Regions from separate parts of the Homo sapiens genome. Here region 2 is linked to region 1. Evidence: promoter capture Hi-C in 16 types of primary human blood cells and fetal thymus (Javierre and others, 2016). All regions are on one chromosome and are shown on one strand. Each heading gives the region's core, a stretch centred on a gene start or on the middle of the fragment in contact. The rest is flanking DNA. Distances are from core to core; before and after follow the strand shown.

Region 1 (7,040 bases), core at 2,595-5,094:
GTAATAAACAACACAAAATTTAAGCTAGTAAACACGGTGTATTTAAAGAAAACTAGGCCAGACGTAATGGCTCATGCCTGTAATCCTAGCACGTTGGGAGGCCAAAGCAGGTGGATCACTTGAGTTCAGGAGTTCGAGACTAGCCTGGGCCACATGGCAAAACTCCATCTCTACCACATATACAAAAATTTAGCTAGGCATCGTGGCGGGTGCCTGTAGTTTGAGCTATTTAATAGGCCGAAGCAGGAGGATTGCCTGAGCCCAGGATGTCGAGGCTGCAGTGAGCCAAGATCCTGCCACTACTCTCTAGCCTGGACAACAAAGTGAGACTTTGTCTCAAAAAACAAAAACAAAAAACTAGCTAAGGCGGGCAGATCGCTTGAGCCAAGGAGTTCCAGACCAGACTGGGAAACATGGCAAGATTCCATCTGTACAAAAAAAATACAAAAGAATTAGCCAGGCCGTAGTGGCCTGTGCTGGTGATCCAGCTACTCAGGAGGCTGAGGCAGGAGAATCACCTGAACCCAGGAAGTCAAGGCGGCAGTGAGCCATGATGGTGCCACTGCATTCCAGCCAGGTCAATGGAATGAGACCCTGTCTCAAAAAACATAAATAAATAGAATTAAATTAAGAAAACCAAAGAGTGACAGCAAAGCCCAGAGCATTATAAGACTCTTCCTCCACAACAGGATTATCAACAAAAGCAGTTACAGAAAAAATTACTTAAGAAATTAATAATTTCCAATGTGACCACTTAAGTTTCATCATAAAGTAAATATTTGAAAAACTAATAAGGTTCTCCAGAACTGAAAATGGAGGGATAGCATCTTTGTTACCCTTTCTAAAGAACATTTTCAGAGAGAATAGTGGGATAAACGCACTACATTTTCGACCCAGATTCAGCAACGCTTTTTATTTTTATTTTATGCTTTGATGGTGTCTAGATTTAAGTTACATATATAATGACATTAGCTCTTAATACTTTAGTTTGCATATCCAAATAATTGAGAATATGGTCTTGCATAATACCATTATCACAGCAAAAATAGCAATAACTCCATTAATATAACATTTTGGCCAAATAAATGAAAAACCAGAAAACACAGATTACATTTCCACGTCATTATAGCCACTAATAAAGATTTTTAAAGAAACTGTGAGAAAAACAAGAGCTATAATCATGCATGCAACTACAGTACAACCAAGAATCCACAAAAGATTATGCAAAAAGTACCATCAGCTTGCCAAGAATAACCAAAAATTAGACATTTAAAATAAATTGTTTTATTGAATGTTAAGTCCAAAGCTATTTCGAAAGTTCTCGATTTCCCCCATATTCCTACCAGTGTCATGAACTTGAAAATTGGGGATAATCGGCTTCAGAAATTTGAACTCATTTGTCCCGGAACCTCCTGTCAGACACACCTCGTATTGGTAGCTCTGGGACAGGGTCCCGGTGCCGCTCACGTCCACCAGATGCCCTGGAAAGGGACCCTCGGGCACCGAGCAGCGACCCACCGAGGCCGCCCTGCTCCTCCTGCACAGCCGCACCGCCACGAACAGGAGCACCGAGAAGAGGAAGAGCGACGACACCGAGGCCAATGCCACCACCAGGTAGACGGTGAGGGAGTCGGCCTGGGCCTGGGCCGGGGCCGCCTCAGGGAGCGGCAGGTAGGGCTGGGAGAAGCCGTCCACCAGGAGCACGTGCAGCGTGGCGGTGGCCGAGCGAGGAGGCTCGCCATTGTCCTTGACCAGCACCACCAGCCTGTGCTTGGCCGCGTCGCGCTCGCTCAGCAGCCTGGCGGTGCGCACCTCGCCATTGTGCGCCCACACGCCGAACAGCCCGGGCTCCGTGGCCTTGAGCAGCTGGTACGACAGCCAGGCGTTCTGGCCCGAGTCGCCGTCCACCGCCACCACCTTGGTCACCAGGTAGCCCGGCTCGGCCGCCCGGGGCACCAGCTCGGTGCAGGGCGCGGAGCCGTTCTGCAGCGGGTACAGCACGAAGGGCGAGTTGTCGTTGGCGTCCAGCACCAGCACGCGCACCAGCGCCTCGCTGCTCAACGCCGGGGACCCGCGGTCTGTGGCGCCCACGCGAAACTCGAACTCCTGTAGGGCCTCGTAGTCCAGCGACCTGAGGGCAAACAGGTGGCCATTGTCCGCGTTGATGGAGACCAAGGAGGCGAGGGGCAGGTGCCGGTCCTGGGGCGGCAGCAGCGAGTAGTTGACCTGGGCGTTGGTGCCTGAGTCTCTGTCTGTGGCGCTGACGCTGCCGATGTGCAGGGCGGGGCTGTTGTTCTCGCGGACGAACAGGGTGTAGGAGGTTTGGGTGAAGGTGGGGGCGTTGTCATTGACGTCAGAGAGCAGCACGGTTATGTTGTACTCGGTTTTCAGCCTGGGTGTCCCCAAGTCTGTGACGGTGATCGTGATGTTGTACTCGGCTTGGCTCTCTCTGTCCAGTGCTTTTTCAGAAACTAGAGTGAAAAAGTTCTTGAAGGTCGGTTTCAGGAAAAAAGGGAGGTTATCTTGAATAGAGCAAATCATCCTCCCATTGTCTCCAGAGTCTTGGTCTAGGATACTAAAAAGAGCTACTAGGGTCTCTGAGGCATTCTCTGGAATTCTCTTTGTAATCGACGATATGGTCACTTCTGGTGGGTTGTCGTTTATATCCATAACTTTAACTAGAAGGGTGCATTTTCCTGAAAGACCCCCACCATCTGTTGCCTGAATATTTATAGTGTAGGACTGTATTACTTCAAAATCCAGGGGTGATCTCAAATTAACTTCCCCAGATATTGGATTAATTTCAAATGTTTTACGAATATCTTCTGATGCATGGAAAAATGTGTAAGATATTTTTCCATAGTTTCCTGCATCCAGATCCTTAGCTGAGATGGTGGCAATCCAGGAGCCAAGGGGTCTGTCCTCGGGGACTTGCACCTCATAGAGACTCTGAGGAAACTCAGGGGCATTATCATTGATGTCCAACACCTTGATGAGAACCAAAGTTGTCCCAGACTTGGGCGGGGATCCACCATCCACTGCTGTGAGTGTTAATCTGAGTTCAGCTTCCTGTTCATAATCTAAAGCTCTATCTAGGACCAGCTCTGGGTATATCTTTCTGTCACTACTGTCGGGAATTTTAATGTAGAAGTGAGAATTGGGGCTAATTGTGTAGTTTTGGAGACTGTTGCTTCCGACATCCAAATCTTGAGCACTCTCCATTAGAAAGGTAGCTCCAACAGTGGTACCTTCTGATATTTTAATAAGTATTTCCTTGTCTAGAAATGTAGGGGAGTGATCATTTATGTCTTTGACACACAGCTCAAACCGAAAAAACTGTAAAGGGTTTTCCAAAACCACCTGAAAATGCAGCACACAGGGCTCGGTGGAGCCACACAGCTCGTCTCGGTCTAGTTTCTCATTTAGGAGCAAATTCCCAGTCAGCAAATCAAGGTGCAAATACTTTTTATTATCATCAGACACTACCCGGGCTTCACGTGAAGACAGCTCCTCCACCCCCAGCCCTAGGTCCCTCGCTAGATTAGCCACAAAAGAGCCAATTTCTGTTTCCTCTGCCACAGAATAGTGTGCAGATTCAGTACCTGCCCGAGACAATCCCAGCAAAACAAGGAATATTAGAACTTGCCTTTTTCGCAGATCGAGTGCCCCTCTGATCTCCATGGTTCCTTTAGGCAATCTCTTGTGGAAAAACTGAAGCTCAGCCGTAATTTTGGAAGCTGAAGCTCTGGTTTTTAACAGGAACCCCCTGGAGAGTGTATCCTCCAGCAGCTCTGTAGGCGAAGCTCCTTTAATGCCTGTCTTTTCAGTGGGTTGGATGCTTTCTGTTCTCCTGAATAGCGAAGCTCACCGTGCCAGCCTATGTACTGTTTTCGTCTTATCCTGTAGCGCCACCATGTGTCTCCATGTTTTTTTTTTCATTAAAAAAGTTTTCCTCTTTGAAAAAGTAATTCATAAATACATCCGGAACATTCGAAACAAATCCCAGACATCATTTTTTTTCCTTTAAATACTTCACTAAGTATTTTTAATAGGTAAGGCCTTCTAAAAGATAATTGTAATAAAACGTTCACAATCAACAACTTGAGCAATAATTCCTTGGTGTAATTTATACTGCATTTGGTTTTCCCCAGTTCTCTCCAAAATGTCCTTTGCTGTTGGTTTGTTTGAATTTGAATCCAGAAAAGTCCATACACTGCATTATCACTGTTTTGAATGCTCGGCACTAAAGGATCTGTTAAAATATTCTGAACTGAAGAAATAATTTTTTATTTAAGTCATTTCTCGAGTAATTACAAATATATTATCTCCTTCACTCTTGTAAATACTTGTTGTCAGCTATAGTTGGTAATATCATTACTTTTTTCACTTTTATATTTTAAAAATATAAAGAAGGACATGGCACAAATAAGTTAGAGATAATTCTTGCTCTTACAGAGCTCACAAGCTAGAAAAATTGGCAGACAAGTAAACGAAGTATGTCATAATGTATGCATTTATAAAAAGTAATATAGAAATACCTAGAAAAGACTTCTTGTACCTAGGAGGCTGCATACCTTAGTGCTTGGGAATATGGGATCTGGAACCAAATTATCAATATTAGAATCCTGGTTATGTGACTTACTATCTATAAGCTTGGGCAAGTTATAGATACCTTTGTTTCCTCACCTGTAAAATGGGGTAATAATATTTGTCTCCTATGATTATTATCGTAGGCATCTAATGAATTAATATTTACAAAGTGGTTTGTAAGTGCTGGTTAAGTGTCTGTCAAAAATAAAATAATTAAGATCAAAGTCGGACTTGGGACATCAGTGAAAGCTTTCCTGAGGTAATGAAAAATACATTGTGATCTGAAGGAACTAGCCAGGAGAAGGAGGAATATTTCAGATGGGCATTTTGAGGAACACAGAGAAATGAAGTATGCCTTGGACTTTAAAAACTATGGAAGGGGAGGGTCTAACAATGAAATTAGGGTTAAAAGCATGGTGAGAACATGAATCATTATACAGGTCATATCATGCATTCTTGAATTTATCCTAAAGGTAATTCAAGTACAAAGATGGGTTTTAAATATCTGATTAACATGATTACATCTGCATTTTAAAAAATCAGTTTGGCTGCAGTATGGAGAATTAATTTCAGGGGGAGTGACTGGAGAATCAAGGAGATCAGATAAGAGATGATGATCTGGATGAGGATAATGCCAGTGTGGATGGAGAGAAGAGGGATGAATAGAAAGGTATGAGGAGATGAAATGTTTTCAACTGTTGGTTGATAGGTTGCATGGGGAGAAAAATGGGAAAGACTCAGAGATGATATCACACCTCTGGACTGGGCATCTGGATGACTAGTGGTGTCATTCACTAGGACAGGGAATGCTAAAAAAAAACATGATTGGGGTGGAAAAAGATGAAGTGTTCAGTTTTGAACATGCTGATATTGAGGTAAGTGCCTGTAGGATGTGTGTTTGCGTGGTGGTGGGGTGTGTGTGTGTGTGTTTGCATATAACCAAAGCATAGGAAATAAATCTGAGCTGGCAATATGAACTGTGGTGTGTATATATGTATATATATAGAGAGAGACAGAGAGAGACAGAGAGAGAGAGCATATATATAGCATATATATAGAGAGAGAGCATATATATAGCATATATACAGAGAGCATATATATAGCATATATATATATATAGCATTCATGGTTTCAATCACCATATATATATATATATATATATATATACACACCATGAATGCTCTAGGATAACCAAGCAAAAGTGTGTCAAATAAGTATAAAAGAGGCTTGGCACAGAACTCTGAGAAACATCTTCATTTAGAGGAGACAGGGCAAGAAGTATATTTGAAAAGATAAAGAAGGCTCAGAGTTCAAAATCATGAAATCAAAAGCAAATAGCATTTTAAGGAGATAAGGAAGATCAATGGCTGCAAATGCTTCAGAAAAATCAAGAAAAATAAGTATGACAATTATCCAGTGGGCTTAAAAAGATGGTCATTGTGGAGGATTCTGATAGATGTCTGACAAAATCTGTTTTCCTTTGCTTCTATAGTAATAGAACTGTGCCCAGGTATGTGGCCATGAAGGTAGATTGCCCATCCCAGCCTCCCTTGTATTTGAGTGTGGCCAAGTGAATTAAGTTCTCACAGATGGATTGTGAGCAGAATTTCTGTCTTCCCCTTCCAGTTATAGAACAGAAATCATCTGGATATGCCTCTTTCTTCCAAGCGAGCTAGAACCCAGATGTGACAGTGACCCAGCTACAGCCATGCAGATTATATTGCCATAGGGAATGTTGAAGAAATTACTTGAAAGAAAATTTGGTTTCAGAAGGACTGTGAGGATGAAAGCTGCCCTACCTACCTAATAATTTTTACATTGGTACTGTCATGTGAAAAAGAGAGACATGTTTACAAGCCACTGTGTCATTGCATCACATTGGTTCCACAGTATAATCTTAACTTATATGGAAATCTTTGATAACATTTGCAATAGCAGTTTCAGTAGAATGGTTGTGATGAAAATTAGATTGTACTTCGGTGCAAAGTGAGGCGGATGAGGAAGCAAAAATGAGGTAAACCGCTCTTTCAACAATTTTTTTTTTGAGACAGGGTCTCAGTCTGTCACCCAGGCTCACTGGCTCACTGCATCCAGGCTCTCAAGAAATTTGTAAAGAATGAAAAGGCTGTAAAAGGAATAAGAAATACATTGGTATCTGGAGAAGAATTCAGACTCAGAGAGTATTTTAAAGACTAGAGAAACTTGAATATATTTAAAATGCCAATGTGTAATGTTCAGTAGGGAAGGAGAAAATTAAGATACAGAAGGGATAATGCAAGTCCCCTAGAAAGGTTGTTAAAGATGGGATCCAGGCAATGTATGAAGTGTTTGGATTTAGACCAGTGGGACGGACCTCAGCAGGTGAAAAGTATAGATACAGATGCTGTTAAAGCTGTGGAGTAGGGGACAGGAAAATGAATTTCTAGCTGATGGATTCTATTTTCTCAATA
Region 2 (7,040 bases), core at 2,586-5,085, 260 kb after region 1:
AAACACAGAAATACTTTAGCAACAGAGTATGAAGTTAGTTCCTAAACATGCTGTAATCTACAGCATCCAGTAGGGAGCTTGGCACAGAGGTGCTCAATTAATGTTCTTTGAAAAGAACTAAATTTACAAATTTATCTGTGTAATTCTAATACAAACAGCTTCTTATTTTCTCTCCTCCTTATAAAATCTTACATACATTTCAAAGTCCAGATGAAAACCTACCTAATCCATCAAACAGTGTCTACTCTAAACACGAGGTTTTTTTTTTCATTTTCACAGTCTACAGCATATCTGTAAGATGGCATGTGTCATTTTTAAATTCATCCAAATAATTTAATATTATCTCTTTAATTATAAGCAACCTGAAAGCAGGAGCCATGTCTTATATTTCTGTCTCCTTCACAATGTAGAAACCCTTATAGACTCTCAATAAATGTTAATTGCTTCATTTTCTTCAGATCTTATTTTTAGTAAACTCAAGCTGCTACAGAAAAATTTCCTATATAGGGATAGAGCATATCTTATGGAGAGGAGGTTGAGAAGTATCTGTCAAATAGGGAAGGAGCTAGTTTTCATTTTTTAATTCATGTATTTATGTTGCTCTACAAACCGAGCACAAGTTATATAATAAAAAAGAGACAAATGGTCATCTCTGATGTTTAGAGTTGTCCAAAGTAGTTTTTAAAAATTCCATCTTGTTAAAAACGAATAGGATTCCTGATCTTCATGCATCCCCAGAAGGAAAATACTTTCCAATATGATTATAGCATTATTTACAGATAAAACATCCAGTGGATGGGAAGATGAAAAAGTTTTCACATAACTTGATGGCTAAATTTTTTCACATCTCCCTTCCTCCAGAAGAAATATATCAGTCAAATATTTGGCATTAACAATTGGCTTTTAGGGGGAGATCCTCTACATTTTTAGTTCTAAAAAACTAATATATTATTGATAGTTGGCTGAGGTGTCTGAAAATTGCTTAGAATAAACAAAGAGATTCAAGCCATAAGAGATTCAAGCCATCTTTGGATAAGTAACAATAAAAAGGGAGAGACAGGTTTGGGGCAGATTGCGTAATATTAACAGATAAAATCAAACTAGCCAGTATTGGGGGGAGTTTTACTTCTTTATCAGTATTCTCAATTGAGATGGCCTAACAAGAATCATAGAATATTAAAGGTTGAGGTTTTTTAAATTATAAAATTATTTTTCATTGAAGAAAATGGTTAAGTGAAACTTGAACCTCAAGATCAATAAGGAGATAGGAAGCATAAAAGTGATATAAGTGGCCGGGTGTGGTGGCTCACGCCTGTAATCCCAGCACTTTGGGAGGCCGAGGCCAAGGTTAGGAGATCGAGACCATCCTGGCTAACATGGTGAAACCCCGTCTCTACTAAAAAATACAAAAAAATTAGCCAGGCATGGTGGTGGGTGCCTGTAGTCCCAGCTACTCGGGAAGCTGAGGCAGGACAATGGCGTGAACCCAGGAGGCGGAGGTTGCAGTGAGCCGAGATCATGCCACTGCACTCCAGCCTGGGCAACAGAGCGAGACTCCATCTCAAAAAAAAAAAAAACTGATGTAAGTAAGTCAATTATCTGTGGCCAGATAAATGATCTTCCAAGGCACTGAAATAACTTACAGATGTGACTAGAGAACCCAATTTCCTATCTTTTAAAAAGTGCCATTAAGCTTGATATAAATTCCTTCAAAACTGTAATATTACTAAAGTGATTGTTTATGAGCACTTAGAAATGAAGGCATTCATACTAAGGACTACTCCGGCTTAATTAAAAACTGGTAACTTCAAACTAACCACATAGACTTAAGATTGTTTTTCATATGGGCACTTTAGTTTCATTTACTAGAATCATTGCCAAAATAAATGCTTATCAAAACAAAATTTAAAAAAAGAAATGCTGCAGGAACAGTCTATCTAGAATTTGTGGAGACATTAAACAAAGTCTCCCAATATACTCACGTGGACAAGACAAAAAAAGAAAGGCAGCTGCAAGACAGTGTAGTTAGGTGATTTTGTAATTGTTTAAATAACATGCCAAAAAGTGTTTACTAATGGAATAGTTCAAACTAGAAGGAGAATTCTAATGGGGACTACAGGGATCCACTCTTGGTCTCTCAAGAAACAGAGCCTGGTAAATCATGTTCTTTAACCTCAAGAAACAGAGCCATGGTAAAAAGAAGCTTCCTGGAGCTTCGGATAAATTCCATCACCTTTTTGGGACCCAGTTTCTTCATCAATACCAACCTCACTAGGGTCCTGTGAGGAGTACATAAGGTTAGATATGTACTGAAATAATATGCCAACTCTTAAGTGCCAAGACATTAAGATGCAAGGGGGTTGGGTGACCAAAAAGTCAACAATTACTTGATACTCCAGATATCCCATTCAACATTTTGTTAATGACTCAAAACAAGGAGGTAGCAAGTGTCCATGCAGTCCAGCAGCAAATTGAGCATTTTTGGAACAAGAATTGCAACTGCCTAGGTTAAGCTATGTTTCTAATTCACTAAACTTAGTACCAATTTTCTATCTGAAACTCAAGATATGCCCCAAATTCATTAGTGTGTATTTCAGCTAATTTCTGGCTTATAGTTGCCATTAAACCTGTTCCAAGTTTCCATTCATCACTTGGGACCTCTTATTTTAATAGAAACCTTGTTTGGCCCTATTTCTCCTCTGTAACTCTTGGGATTTTAGCCATGGACTAAAATCATGGACTAAAATAAGATGAGTATTTGGCACTAAAGAACACCCTCATTCCCAAGTAGGTTTTAGCCAAAGCATTCATTGATTTGGATAGGGGTTTTAAAAATATATTTCAAAAACACACTAGATATTGTTGAAGTACCTTGAATTTGAACTGTTTTCCAACTGTTTTCCTAAGCTCAGTCTATATGAAGGCCACAGTTTCTCTTTCCTATACCCATTATGTTTGCTGCTTGGAACAAACAAACCTACACCTCTGTGTAAGAAGGATTACTTCTCAAAATTATCCATACATATATCTAGAGTATCAAGTAATTGTTGACTTTTTGGGCACCCCCCCTTGCATCCTAATGTCTTGGCACTTAAGAGTTGGCATATTATTTCAGTACATATCTCACCTCATGTACTTCTCACAGGACCCTAATGAGGTTGGTATTGATGAAGAAACTGGGTCCCAAAAAGGTGACGGAATTTATCAGAAGCTCCAGGAAGCTTCTTTTTACCATGGCTCTGTTTCTTGAGATCCTGAAATAACATCTGACCACTACACATGCAACCCCTAACTTAAGAATTGTATTATCAGTCTCAAGCTATTAATATCTAAGTATTTCATAAGGAATACTATTGTTCCCACAACTACAAGTTTCTTTCTCTTTTAGAAACTTCAATTGAATCTTCTGTACATGTTTTTAATAATAAACAGCCGGACTTAACAAAATCATGATGCAAAATAGATTTGTATTTCATATCCCAACTTCTTCTTTCAGTAACATCTACCTCCTACCTATGATATTCTGCCTAAGTAATGGGGCTTTACAAATGGCTTTGATTTTTCTGATATAAATCCCACTCGTGTATTCCTTGACAGATTTTGCTACATAATTCCTTTAGCAGTTACAGGCATAATACATTATCATGTGGGTAAAATATAAATCCTCTAAATTAGCCATGTTAATATACACTGTTCTTACTGAATATTAAAATATACTTTAAGGCATTTTGATGAGATAATGTTATCTAAAAATTTTCCCTTTCAAAGCTCATTTTATTGAAATTATTTAGAAATGATTTACAAATTCTTCAATTTTGCTTCTGTGTTTTTTCTCTCTTTTTTTCTATCACAAGCAAGAAAAGCATGTTATACTTGGCTGATAGAATTGAAACAAAAAATCTAGTACTGATTCTATTTATACAGCATCTCTGAATTAATGGTCTTAAAGATCTTAAAATTTTTTAGTTTGATCCATATATAACAATATGCCTTGATTGATGCCAACTTCAGCTTTTCAGCACAAAATAGAAAAAAATACACAAATTCTCAGATCAATCAACACTTTATCTTAATTTGTGACTTTTTTTTTTGAGACAGGGTCTCACTCAGTTGTCCCGCTGGAGTGCAGTAGCATAATCAAAACTTATTGCAGCTTCAACCACCGGGCTCAGTGATGCTCCCACCTCAGGCTCCTGGGTAGCTGGGACTACAGTCATGCACTATCATGCCCAGATAATTTTTGTATTTTTTGTAAGGACAGCATTTCACCATGTTGCCCAGACTGGTCCTGAACTCCTGGGGTCAAGCAATCTGCCCACTTTGGCCTCCCAAAGTGGGCTCACCTCGCCCACCTTCGGACCCCTGCTGAATGTCCGAAACCAAGGATAATACTGAATTCTATATATACTGCATTTTTTCCTATACATACATACCCATGATAAAGCTTAATGTATAAATTAGGTACAGTAAAAGATTAGCAACAATAACTAATAATAAAATAGAACAATTATAATAATATAATATTATTACAAGTATGAGCCACCACACCCAGGCAGACTTTTCTGTATCTATTATATAGCTACTGGTCAATTCTTTTATAAACCCAGTAAACCAAAGACACTGGAATGATAACTTTAAGATATAAAAATTAAAACAGAATGGTGTGATAATTTACTAGAAATAGAAAGTTGATTTCAAACAGAAATGGGTAAAAATCTCCTTTCTCTCTTTCCCATTCAGTGTTACATTTATTATAACAGAGTTGTCACTCTAGGATATTCAATATCCTTTATAATTAAAATTTCATCATAGCTTTCTGTGATTGGTTTTCTGCAGTACTCTCAAGCTGGACTAGTATTCCTTTGATCCAATTATCATAAGCTCATTTAAAATCTCAACTGTGTATGAAACATTTATTGGTTCATAAATCAATGTACACATAGTATATATTGGACAGCCATGCCTCCTAGGATATGTGGACTTAGTGCTCTTTAAGCCAGCAGAAGTTGAAGAATAAAAGGTATTTTTAAATTATAAAAAGTGCTTCTTTCCAAGCATCAGTGATAATGTTTGATGACCTGTTAAGAAAATAGCAACATTCCTGATAAAGTCAGACTGTGAACTTCCTGTGATTTATTTATTTTTTGAGCTCTAATTTATTTTAATTAAGTTCAATAATATTTAAAATATATACTTCTTGTACCAAATTAAATTTGTTCAGAATTGTTAAAAACAATGAAAGTCCTTTAAAATCTAATTCCCTTGTATACTAGACCAGTAACAGAAAATTTATATCACTCCAGGCTTTTGACTATGCTATATAAATATACACACTGATACATTTTACAAAATGGAACCACACTCTACACACTATTGTACAACTTTACTTTTTGCTTCTGTGTTTTTTCTCTCTTTTTTCTATCACAAGCAAAGAAAGCATAGTATACTTGGCTGATAGAATTGAAACAAAAAATCTGGCACTGATTCTATTTATACAGCATCTCTGAATTAATAGTCTTAAAGATCTTTAAATTATTTAGCTTGATACATAGATAACAATATGCCTTGGTTGATGCCAACTTCAGCTTTTCAGCACAAAATAGGAAAAAAAATACACAAACTCTCAAATCAATTAACACTTTCTCTTAATTTGTGACTTTTTTTTACTTAACATATATGATGAACTTAGTTTTTACTTAACATATATAATGAACATCCTTTCATGTCAGTATATATAATTCTGCTTCTTTCTTAATAAAAACTACATAATGTTCATTGTCTAGATATTTCATAATTAATTTTTACTCCATGATTGAATATTTAAGTGCATTTCTGAAAGTGTGTGCATGTATATGTCTGTGTGTTTATTCTGGGAAGTGCTTTGTTAAAAGTACAGTAGTCCCTCCTTTTCCACAGAGAATACTTTCTAAGATCCCCACTGAATGTCTGAAACCAAGGATAATACTGAATTCTACATATACTATGTTTTTTCCTATACATACATACCTATGATAAAGTGTGATTTATAAATTAGGCACAGTAAAAGATTAACAACAATAATAATAAATTAGGACAATTATAACAATACACTATAATAAAAGTTTTATGAATGTGGTCTCTCTCTCAAAATATCTTACTGTACTGTGCTCACCTATTTTCTGAAACTGCTCAGAGTGAAACTGCAGGTAAGGGGGGACTAGTGCTTACATATTTAAATTTTAGGTAGACATGCCAAAATGCTTCGCCAAATTTTTGTGCCTATTTATATTCCCAATCGGTCATCAATAAACCAATTTATATACTTAGATTTGTCTCCAAAATTTTTAGTTCATAGTGTAGTAAAGAAACACACAGAATCATGTCCATAGCAATATTTCATTTTCCTTAATAAAAAGCCCTCAGTCACATTTATAATTTATTTTATATGACTCCCATAAATATCTAAATGCTCACTGAGAAATTCAGACCACTTCCTTGAATTTATTTTACTTAAATTGACTGATTAATTACAGTGTTTTAATGTAAATTTTATCCTATATCCAGCAAGATTAAAGTTTATACATTTAAGAATATTCATTCATTGATATCTAACTTTTCACACATTCATTCAACCATTTAACCCAAGATTTAAAAATATTAAATTACAAATTGAAGCAATAATAAATAGCCCACCAAGCAAACAAAGCCCAGGACCAGACAGATTTACAGCTGAATTCTATCAGAGGTACAAAGAGGAGCTGGTACCAATTCTTCTGAAGCTATTCCAAACAATGGAAAAGGAGGTACTCCTCCCTAACTCCTTTAAGGCCAGCATCATCCTGATACCAAAACCTGGCAGAGATGCAACAAAAAGGAAAACTTCCAGCTGATATCCCTGATAAGCATCAATGCAAAAATCCTCAATAAGATACTGGCAAACCAAATCCAGCAGCACATCAAAAAGCTTATTCACCATGATCAAGTAGGCTTCATCCCTGGGATGCAAGACTGGTTCAACATATGCAAATCAATAAATGTAATTCATCACATAAGCAGAACTA

Evidence for each region. The method cuts DNA at HindIII sites, captures the fragments that hold promoters and counts their contacts. A CHiCAGO score of 5 or more calls a contact.
Region 2: a contact is called between a fragment that was not itself captured here and the fragment with the promoter of PCDHB14 in region 1, in 1 of 17 cell types (M2 macrophages). The highest score is 7.4, in M2 macrophages.

Annotation. Positions count from the first base shown.
Region 1 is chr5:141,220,147-141,227,186 of GRCh38, reverse strand. PCDHB14 (protocadherin beta 14) reads right to left here and starts at 3,844. Exons shown (of 1, transcript NM_018934.4): 1 at 1-3,844. The coding sequence starts at 3,681. The coding sequence ends at 1,285. It also overlaps PCDHB@. The HindIII fragment of the contact is 16,360 bases long and covers 1-4,654 here.
Region 2 is chr5:140,956,425-140,963,464 of GRCh38, reverse strand. The region is part of intron 1 of PCDHA1 (protocadherin alpha 1); the gene reads right to left. All of the region lies in intron 1 of PCDHA2 (protocadherin alpha 2), which reads right to left. All of the region lies in intron 1 of PCDHA3 (protocadherin alpha 3), which reads right to left. All of the region lies in intron 1 of PCDHA4 (protocadherin alpha 4), which reads right to left. It also overlaps PCDHA5, PCDHA6, PCDHA7, PCDHA8, PCDHA9 and PCDHA10, and 5 more genes. Among named protein-coding and RNA genes, the nearest start is that of PCDHAC2, 6.5 kb to the left of the region's middle. The HindIII fragment of the contact is 1,223 bases long and covers 3,224-4,446 here.